Regions from separate parts of the Homo sapiens genome. Here region 2 is linked to region 1. Evidence: promoter capture Hi-C in 16 types of primary human blood cells and fetal thymus (Javierre and others, 2016). All regions are on one chromosome and are shown on one strand. Each heading gives the region's core, a stretch centred on a gene start or on the middle of the fragment in contact. The rest is flanking DNA. Distances are from core to core; before and after follow the strand shown. Region 1 holds the start of EIF2S3B (eukaryotic translation initiation factor 2 subunit gamma B). Region 2 has its middle 21 kb from the start of GABARAPL1-AS1.

Evidence for each region. Contacts are between HindIII fragments. The CHiCAGO score rates a contact against its expected background, and 5 or more counts as called.
Region 2: a contact is called between a fragment that was not itself captured here and the fragment with the promoter of EIF2S3B in region 1, in 4 of 17 cell types (total CD8 T cells, naive CD8 T cells, endothelial precursors and 1 more). The highest score is 18.9, in total CD8 T cells.

Annotation. Positions count from the first base shown.
Region 1 is chr12:10,503,261-10,508,555 of GRCh38, reverse strand. EIF2S3B (eukaryotic translation initiation factor 2 subunit gamma B) reads right to left here and starts at 2,666. Exons shown (of 1, transcript NM_001357734.3): 1 at 31-2,666. The coding sequence starts at 2,653. The coding sequence ends at 1,235. The region is part of intron 3 of LOC105369657 (a long non-coding RNA gene); the gene reads left to right. The HindIII fragment of the contact is 5,298 bases long and covers 2,416-5,295 here.
Region 2 is chr12:10,233,110-10,238,404 of GRCh38, reverse strand. No RefSeq gene overlaps it. Among named protein-coding and RNA genes, the nearest start is that of GABARAPL1-AS1, 21 kb to the right of the region's middle. The HindIII fragment of the contact is 612 bases long and covers 2,303-2,914 here.

The DNA of each region.
Region 1 (5,295 bases), core at 1,417-3,916:
ATTTTCTTTTTTTTTTTTTTTTTTTTTTTTGCTTTCTAACATCTTTTACTTATTGACCTTTTGAAACATCCAAAAATTAGTAATATTATAATCTGTGTCACAATCATATAACAGTTAAGAAAAAACATAAAATGAAGGCCTAGAAGGATCTTTGTTACTCATCTAGAATTATTTGGTATAACAGTATTTTCCAATGGAGGAAGACTATTGGATTTCAGGCATAAAACAATGCAGAAAAACATCTCAAGGCATCACAGGGAGAGGGAGATAACTTCTGACTCTAGTTTCCCGTATTTCAGGCCAGGAAGAGCAAGGGGAGAAAATTATTTGCCCATGGGAACAAGTAATCATGCTCTAAAGGACAATTTCATTCGAACCCATTCGTGCATCCTTTTCATGCAATTCGAACCCATTCATTGCATCCTTTTCATGCAAAATTTCAAAGATAAAGCAACATAAAATATGGGGCCAAAGAAAAGGGAGAAGGTCTTCAAGGATAATTTGTGCCTTTAAGTTTTTACTGGTACAACAGTCCTTCAGCCTGGAGGTACTCAAAGACGAATCATGAAAAACAAAAAAAAACTTTATTTCGAACAGTTTCAGTGATATATGTGTGTGCTACAGCAAAGGCTGGTTGTGGCAAAGTTTCATTTCAAACTGCATGATGTGGGCTAGGCAAGGTGGCTCACGCCTGTAATCCCGGCACTTTGTGAGGCCGAGGTGGGCTGATCACCCTGAGGTCAGGAGAGACTGGCCTGGCCAACATGCCGAAACCCCGTCTCTACTAATACAAAAATTAGCCCCGTGTGGTGGCACACACCTGTAATCTCAGCTACTTGGGGGGCTGAGGCAGGAGAATCGCTTGAACCTGGGAGGCAGAGATTGCAGATCATGCCACTACATGCCAGCCTAGGTGACAAAGCCAGACTCAAAAACAAAACAAAATAAAACAAACAAAAAAACTGCATAATGTATAATTTTGACATTATGTGGGAATGCTTAACTTCTGCCAAAATGTAGATTCAATCCAACATTATGCCAATTTTTATACTAATTGTAGTCCCTAAGTTTTCATAACCAAAAAAAAAAAGAGAGAATAACCTTACCGTTACCTACTAAGGTAACAAACTGTGAAATCAATTCCCCAATATCGCTTTGAAAATAAACCCCTTGGTTGTTAAAGAGAAATTGCAACTTCCAGCTCCATCCGAATGTATTATTTAACCGGTATTCTTCAGTCATCATCTACTGTTGGCTTGATTGTCACTCCTCTTCTTATCTGACCCCAACCAATTAAACGCCAGTGTTTTTCAACTCTTCGGCTAAGGGCAATTTTTTCTCCTACCTCTGTGCACACTGGATTGGTCAAAACAATTTTGCCCAAATCGGCCTTGACAGCACTAACTCTCCCTCCTGTCGACAGGGATCCTATGTTCACCATGAGCACTTCATTCTTAGACAGCTTTTGAACCTTTGCTGCTTTCTTGTCTCCTTCAGTGCGTACACCTAGAAGCCGTCTAAGCAGGAAATAGGAAATTTCCAATTCTGTGAATATCTCAGGTAAAGCTCCGACTGCACCAAGTATTTGCCCCACCATTCTGTCAGCCCGGCACAAAGTGGGGTCAATTTTTGTTCCAACTCCAATAAGACCGCCTGGAGCAGCATATTGCAGATCATTATGCTCCGCAAAAAGTGAAACAATTTTGGAAAAGATTGATTTACACATGAGTTTTCCTTCACTATCTTTGGAAACAATACCAGGTCTTACTTCTGTCTCCTGGCCCACCTTTAATACTCCTTTTAGGATACTACCACCAGCTACACCTCCCTTAAGGTCATCAACTTCACAGCCAGGTTTGTTGACATCAAAAGATCTAATAACAATAAGCCGGGGCTCTGAAGTAAAGTCTCTTGGGGGTACTGGAATTTTCTTTACTATGTACTCACAAACAACTTCAATATTGTATTTCAGCTGAGCCGAAATTGGAATAATGGGAGCTCCCTCTGCTACTGTACCTTGGACAAACGCAAGGATCTGCTCGTATTGTTCTTTAGCCTGCCTTTCTTTTACCAAATCAATTTTATTTTGTAGAATCAAAATATGCTTCAGTTTCATGATCTCTATAGCAGCCAGGTGTTCAGATGTCTGAGGCTGAGGGCAAGATTCATTACCAGCTATCAACAGAAGAGCTGCATCCATCACTGCTGCACCGTTCAGCATAGTAGCCATCAAAATATCGTGGCCAGGACAGTCAACAAAGGAAACATGTCTGACTAATCTGAAGTTCCCTTTGGTTCCTGGAATGTCTGTAGGAAACTCATCAGGCATACTGCTCCCACAAGATCGATAACATTCTGGCCGAGGGCAACTTGGGTCATCAAGTTGATAAATCTTAGCATTAGCATATCCAAGCTTGATTGTAATATTTCTTTCTAGTTCATTTTTGAACCTGACGGTGTGAACTCCAGAAATAGCTTTGACGACTGTGGATTTCCCATGAGCTACATGACCAATTGTACCTATATTAATTGTGGCTTGTCTGCTGATAACTTCGTGTGAAAGTGGCGTCAACTTGGTAACATCCAAGGTGGTGAGATCCTGACGCGAAAGGTGCGGCTGCCCCAGAGTCACCCCAGCTTCTCCGCCCGCCATGTTGCCAAAAGAGGAAGAAAGTCACCCCGGCTGCCGCCTGATCGTCTGCAGGGGTCCTAGTGCGGGGCGGGGATGCGGAGGCCGGAAGGTCGACTAGGGTCTCAGGATGGCCGGTGCAGCAGCGGCCTCAGTGCTTGGACTTCTCTCTGCTTGAATCTGCACAGTGCCTGTCGGTAGGCTTACTGGAAAACACGGTGCAAAGTTGCTGGAGCTATTCGTCGCAGACTTGGTAGATATTTGTGCAGGCAATACTGAGGGCAGCCACCCAAACCCCCGCCCCCTGGGCCCATGCGAGGCGGGTCGAAAATATATTTTCAGTTGACCACAGATAAATACTTAAAAAATTAATGGACCATTGTAATCTATTTATATGAAAATGGATCTTGTATATACAGCCTGCTATTACATTTCTAAGAAGACACAAAACCAGCAACACACTGAATAATTCTACACTAAATATTTTTCTTCTTTAAGAAGATTAATTATTAATATATTTATTTTTTGTTCGAAACAAATAGCTATGTCGTGGTTTATATTATAATTTTCATTTCTTCAAATTATGTTGGAGTGATGACCATTAATAGATGCTATATTGGAGATTTATTACAATAGCTTTATTGAGGTATAGTTTATATACAAAAAAACTGTGCATTTTTAACGTATACAATTTGATGAGTTTGGACATATGCATACATTCGTAATACCATCACCCAATGAAGATAGTAGGCATGTTTATCATCTACAAAGTTTTTCTTGAGTACCTTTATTTTGGGAGCAGAGGGCAAGTAAGACACTTGACATGAGATCTACCCTCCTAGCAGATTTTAAAGTGATCAACGTATTGTTGCTAACTATACGTACTATGTGGTACAGTATATCTCTAGAACTTATTCGTCTTTCGTAACTGAAACTTAACCAATTGAAAGTGAGTCCCTGGTAACCACCATTCTCTGTTCCTATGAATTTGACTACTTTAGATAACTCATATAGTATAATCATAAAGCATTTGTTCTTCTGTGACTGGCTTATTTTATTTAGCTTAATGTCCTCAAGGGTCATTCATGTTGTCATGAATGGCAGAATATTCTTTCTTTAAGGCTGAAGAATATTCCATCATATGTACATACTACATTTTCTTTATCTGTTCATCTGTCAGTGTACATTTAGGTTGTTTAAATATTATTTATTCTTGATAATCCTACCATTGATGTGGGAGTGCAGATATCTCTTCAAGATACTAATTTTAATTCTTTTGGATATACTGTATACCCAGAAGTGATATTATTGGGTTATATGGGTAGTTTTACTCTTAATTTTTGAGGAAGCTCTATACACCTTTTTCATAGTGCATTCTTATCAACAATGTGCTAGGGTTCCAATTTCTTCACATTCTTACCAACATATATATATATATATATATATATATATATATATATATATATATATCTTCATATATATGTATATGGATATATTCGTTTTAAGGAAGAGGGTAATAAATGAAAGTGAGAGGATGGCTCATCTCCTTCTTCTGGGTATATATGAATGAATATATGGATATGTGAATGTATCCATATATATATATATATATATATATATGTAAAATAGTCATCCTAACAGGTGTTAGGTAGCATCTTAGAATATTTCCCTAATGATTAGTGATGTTGAGCATTTTTTTATATACCCACTGGCCACATGCATGTCTTTTGTGGAGAAATGTCTATTCAAGTCCTTCATCCATTTTTTAAAATTGGGCTATTTTTTGTTTTTGGTATTAAGTTGTAGAGGTTCCTTATATATTCTGGACATTAATACCTTAACAGATATGTTATTTGCAATGTTTTCTCAAATCTATAGGTTGCCTTTCACTCTGCTGTTTCCTTTGCTGTGCAGAACATTTTTAGTTTGATGTAGTCCCACTTTATATAATTTTGCTTTGGTTACTTATGCTTTTATGAAAATTTAATGTAATCAAATACATCTATAGATTCAAGGCAATTCTGTTCAAAATCACAATTGCACTTTTTTTTACAAAAATAGAAAAATATTCATTAAACTCATGTAGAACCACAAAAGACACTGAATAGCCAAAGCAATCTCCAGGAAGAAGAACAAGGTTAAACAAGGTTAAAGGCATCATACACCCTGAATTCAAAACTATTACAAAGCTACAGTAGTACTGGCATAATAACAGACATACAGATCAAGGGATCTTTGAGAAATGCAAATCAAAACCACAATGAGATACTGTCTCTCACCAGTCACTATGGTGATTCAAATTTGGCATTTTGATTAAAATGTGAAAGAATAAGAGATGCTGGTGAGGTTGCCAAGAAAAGGGACACTGATACACTGTTGGTGGAAATGTAAATTAGTTAAGACACTGTGGAAACCAGTTTGGAGATTTCTCAACGAACTTAAAAACACAACTACCATTCAGCCCAGTTATCCCATTACTGGGTATATACCCAAAGGAAAATAAATCATTCTACTAAAATACACTGGAATTTGTATGTTTATCACAGCATTATTCACAATAGTAAAGATATGGAATCAACCTAGGTGCCCATCAAAAGTGGATTGGATAAAGAAAATGTGGTACACATACACTCATGGAATACTATGAAGCCATAATAAAGAATAAA
Region 2 (5,295 bases), core at 1,359-3,858, 270 kb after region 1:
TATTCAGTGAATGAAAAAGGGCCAGATGCAATGGCTCACACTTATAGTCTCAGCACTTTGGGAGGCCGAGGCAGGCAGATCACCTGAGGTCAGGAGTTCAAGACCAGCCTGACCAACATAGAGAAACCCCATCTCTACTAAAAATACGAAATTAGCTGGGTGTGGTGGCTCATGCCTGTAATCTTAGCTACTCAGGAAGCTGAGGCAGGAGAATCACTTGAACCCAGGAGGCAGAGGTTGCGGTGAGCTGAGATCACACCATTGCACTCCAGCCTAGGCAACAAAGAGCAAAACTCCATCTCAAAAAAAAAAAAAAAAAAAATAGAAAAAAGAAAAACAGACATGTTCTCTGGCCTCATGGAAACCATATTCTAATGAAAGAAATTATAAAATTTAAGTTAAAAAGCAAATTCAAAATAATACAAGTTCCAATATGTGTTGTAAATGAAACAAAAAAGTGTTTGAGATTGACAGCAACAGCAGAGGGGCCCTAGAAACTTTAACTGGATGATCAGAGATTGTAATATTCATGCAGGATTTTTCTTGGCCCTTTTGCCGGACTCCTAGCACGAGTGCCCCATCTCCTCGGCCCACCATGCTCCGCCCCTTGAGAGAGGTAACACATAAGCAAGTGAGTATGGGATCTGGCCAGCCACTCCAAGCACCAATACAGGAGCAAGCTCCATGCAAAGCCCATGTCCAGACCAGTCATGTTGCCTTGAGGGGAACATGGCAGCCTGGTGCCCATGATCCCAAAGCCCCAGAGGGGGTGTGAGTGTGCTACTTAGCTCTTTTAGTTCCACCATCCACAGTCGATAAACGGCTGTGTGTTAGCAGCTCAGTTGGCCACTGACCCTGTAGCTGCCAGTGGGGTGGTTGCCCTCCACTTGCAAGGGCAAAGGGCCAGTGTGACAGCCTCCACCTGCACTTAGTGGGTCCCAAGCTTTTGTCCAGCGTCCAAGAAGAATGAGGTCACACTTGACAACTGAAGAATGGTAAGAGTGGAGAATTTTATTGAGCGATGAAAACAGTTCTCTAGTGGAGAGGGGAGCTGGAGAGGGTATCAGAAAAGCAGATCATGTTTCCCTGAAGTCAAGCTGTCTCCTCCCCAAAGTCAGGCTGTCTCCCCTCCACTGACAGGGGCCTTTATAGGAACAGGATGGGGGCAGGGTGGGCCATAGGTAGTATTGGAAAAAGCAACATTCAATTGGTTAAAAGGCATTATTCAGAAAGAACCAATAAGAAGAGAGCCAACAAACAGGAATGGAAGTCCTCACTCTGGTCTGTGGGTTTCAGGCTGTTTTTGACCTGAAGGTAAGGTTTCCCCAGGGACCCATCCCTGTCTGTCTAGGATTTCTCTGCCTCCTGCCTCTATTAATATTTAAGTTACGACAAAGTATGAGAAGGAGCTGGCTATACAGAGCTAAGAGAGGAGCAGTTCAGTGGAAGATACCAGGTATGTGCACAGCCCTGACTGAGACAGAAAGAATTTAATGCCATTCAAGAAACTAATAAAAGGCCAGTGTGGTTTGTGATTAGTTAGTGACAGGGCAATTGACATGTGACACTGGAGGATGAGGAGATAAACAGAGGACTGCTTGCATGCACAACCTGTAGTAAATTGGAACATTATAAACAGTATTACTTAGTTGTATATTCTATGGCAACAAAGTTCTATTATCATTCTACTTGCCTGTTTTCCCCCTAAGACAATACCAATCTAACTTCTAATCTTTTTTTATCCTCAGAAGAAACTTAATCTCCCAAATAAACAAGGAATGTTTGAGAAAAGATGCTCCAGAAATGCTGACTTCCTTTTCCTTTTCCTGCCTCACCCTCCTCTATCCACTTTTTCTTTAGACAGTGCCTTGCTCTGTCACCCAAGCTGGAGTGCAGTGGTGCAATCTCAGCTCACTACAACCTCCACCCGCCGGGTTCAAGCGATTCCCCTGCATCAACCTCCAGAGAAGCTGAGACTGCAAGCATGCTCCACCACAGCCAGCTGATTTTTGTATTTTTAGTACAGACAGGGTTTCACCATGTTGCCCTGTCTGGTTTCAAACTCCTGGCCTCAAGTAATCTGCCCACTTTGGATCCCAAAGTTCTGGGATTGCAGGTGTGAGCCACCACACCCAGCCCACTGTTACCTTTTGGAACAGAAGAAATATATCTATTTGTCTAAAACAGAAATGTTATTATTTCATCTAGATGCTGAAAGAGACACCAGAGTCAACAAAAATGTGCAATGCATCTTCCTCCTTTGGGGGAAGATTTAAAAAGAAAAATTGACAATGAACAAGCTTACTTCTTATTTTTTCTCTATTGTTAAAATTCTGTGGTTTTGTTTACAAAAAGGTGACACTATTATTAATAACAGATTGATTAAAAAGGAAAATAATTGCAGCCAGTGAGGATTAAGGCTGCAGTGTTATTAAGTGGATCTGGCCTGCCACCTGGTGGCCAGAAGTACAATGACCACACTCGTTTTGGAAATGAAGCCTCCCTGAACTGTAAAGGAGTAGGAGGGAAGAATTAGAGGTGGGAGCTGCCTTGCAAACTAGCTTAGCAATGTCTTTCAGTCAGATCAAAATAGAAGACAGATGACAGAAGACAGGTGGCTTATTTTCTTAAAGATGTACAAAGAAGCCTTATGCTATAACCTCCACTCGTAAGTAGCATGATATAGTTTGGCTTTGTGTCCCCACCTAAATCTCATCTTGAATTATAATCCCATAATCCCCACATGTAATGCGAGGGACCCATGGGGGCGGTTTCCCCCATGCTGTTCTCCTGACAGTAAGTGAGTTCTCATGAGATCTGATAGGTTTATAGCAATCCGGCATTTCCTCTCCTGGCACTCATTTTCTCTCCTGCCGGCCTGTGAAGAATGCACCTTCTGCCATGACTATAAGCTTCCTTAGGCCTCCCCAGCCATGTGGAACTATGATTCAATTAAACCTCTTTTCTTTTTAAATTAACCAGTCTCGAATATTTCTTCATAGCAGTGTGAAAATAGACTAATACAGTAAATTGGTATTGAGGAAGTGAGGCACTGCTATAAGGATACCTGGAAATGTAGAAGGGAAGCGATTTTGCAACTGGGTAGCAGGCAGAGGTTGGAACAGTTTGGAGGGTTCAGAAGAAGACAAGAAGATATGGCAAAGTTTGGAACTTCTGAGAGACTTGTTGAATGGTTTTGACCAAAATGCTGATGGTGATATGGACAATGAAGTCCAGGCTGAGGTGGCCTCAGATGGAGACGAGGAACTTGTTGGGAACTGGAGCAAAGGTGACTCTTGCTATGCTTTAGTAAAGAGATTGGTGGTGTTTTGTCCCTTCTGTAGAGATCTGTGGAACTTTGAACTTGAGAGACATGATTTAGGGTATCTAGCAGAAGAAATTTCTAAGCAGCAAACTGTTCAAAAGGAAGTAGACTATAAAAGTTTGGAAAATTTGCAGCCTGAACATGCAATAAAAAAGAAAAACTCATTTTCTGGAGAGAAATTCAAGCCAGCTGCAGAAATTTGCATAAGTAACAAGGAGACAAATGTTAATCACCAAGACAATGGGGAAAATGTCTTCAGGGCATGTCAGATACCTTCACAGCAGCCACTCCCATCACAGGCCTGGAGGCCTAGGAGGGAAAAATGGTTTCATGAGCTGGGTCTAGGGCCCCCCCTGCTCTGTGCACCCTTGGGAATTGTGCCCTGAATCCCAGTTGCTTAAACTCCAGCTGTGGCTAAAAGGGGCCAAGGTAAAGTTCAGGCCATTGCTTCTGAGGCTGCAAGCCCCAAGCCTTGTTGGCTTCTATGTGGTCTTGAGCCTGTGGGTGCACAGAAGTCAAGAATTGAGGTTTGGGAACCTCCACCTAAATTTCAGAGGATGTATGGAAATGCCTGAATGTCCAGGCAGAAGTTTGCTGCAGGGGTGGAGCCCTCATGAATAACCTCTGCTAGGGCAGTGTGGAAGGGAAATGTGGGTTGAAGCCCCCACACAGAGTCTCCACTGGAGCACTGCCTAGTCGAGCTCTGAGAAGAGGGCCACCATTCTCCAAACCCCAGAATGGTGATCCATTGACAGTTTGCAACATGTGCTTGGGAAAGCTGCAGCCACTAAGCACAGCCAGGAGTGGGGCTGTACCCTGCAAAGCCACAGGGGCAGAGATTCCCAAGGCCATGGGAGCCCACCTCATGCATCAGGCTGAACTGGATGTGAGACATGGAGTCAAAGGAAAACATTTTGTAACTTTAAGATTTAATGACTGCCCTACTGGATTTTGGACTTGCATGGGGCCTGTAGCACATTCATTTTGGCCAATTTATCCCATTTGGAATGGGCGTATTTACCCAATGCCTGTACCCTCATTGTATCTACGAAGTAACTAAGTTGCTTTTGATTTTACAGGCTCATAGGCAGAAGAGACTTGCCTTGTCTCAGATGAGACTTTGGACTTGGACTTTTGGGTTAATGCTGGAATGAGTTAAGATTTTGGGGGACTGTTGGGAGGGCATGATTGTATTTTGAAATGTGAGAACATGAGATTTGGGAGTGGACAGGAGGGGAATGATATGGTTTGGCTTTCTGTCCCCATCCAAATCTCATCTTGAATTGTAATCCAGTAATCCCCATATGTCATGGGAGGGACCCAGTGGGAGGTAATTGAATCATGGGGGTGGTTTCTCCCATGCTGTTCTTGTGATAGTGAGTGAGTTCTCATGAGATCCGATGGTTTTATAAGTGTCTGGCATTTTCCCTGCTGGCACTCATTCTGTTTCCTGCTGCTCTGTGAAGAATACACCTTCTGTTATGATTGTAAGTTTCCTGCGGCCTCCCCAGCCATGCAGAACTATGAGCCAATCAAACCCCTTTTCTTTATAAATTACCCAGTCTTGGGTATTTCTTCATAGCAGCATGAGAATAGACTAATATATAATGAAATCTGGCTGGGTGCAGTGGCTTATGCCTGTAATCCCAGCACTTTGGGAGGCCAAAGTGGGCAGATCACCTGAGGTCAGGATTTCAAGACCAGCCTGGTCAACATGGAGAAACCTTGCCTGTATTAAAAATACAAAAATTAGTCAGTCATGGTGGCAGGCACCTGTAATCCCAGCTACTCGGGAGACTGAGGCAGGAAAATCTCTTGAACCTGGGAGGTGGAGGTTGCAGCGAACCGACATTGTGCCACTGCACTCCAGCCTGGGTGACAGAGTGAGACTCCATCTTAAAACAACAACAAAAAAAAGAAATCTAATCTATCAATTAAGATTATCTTAATTTCTGCAGCACTGCAAAACA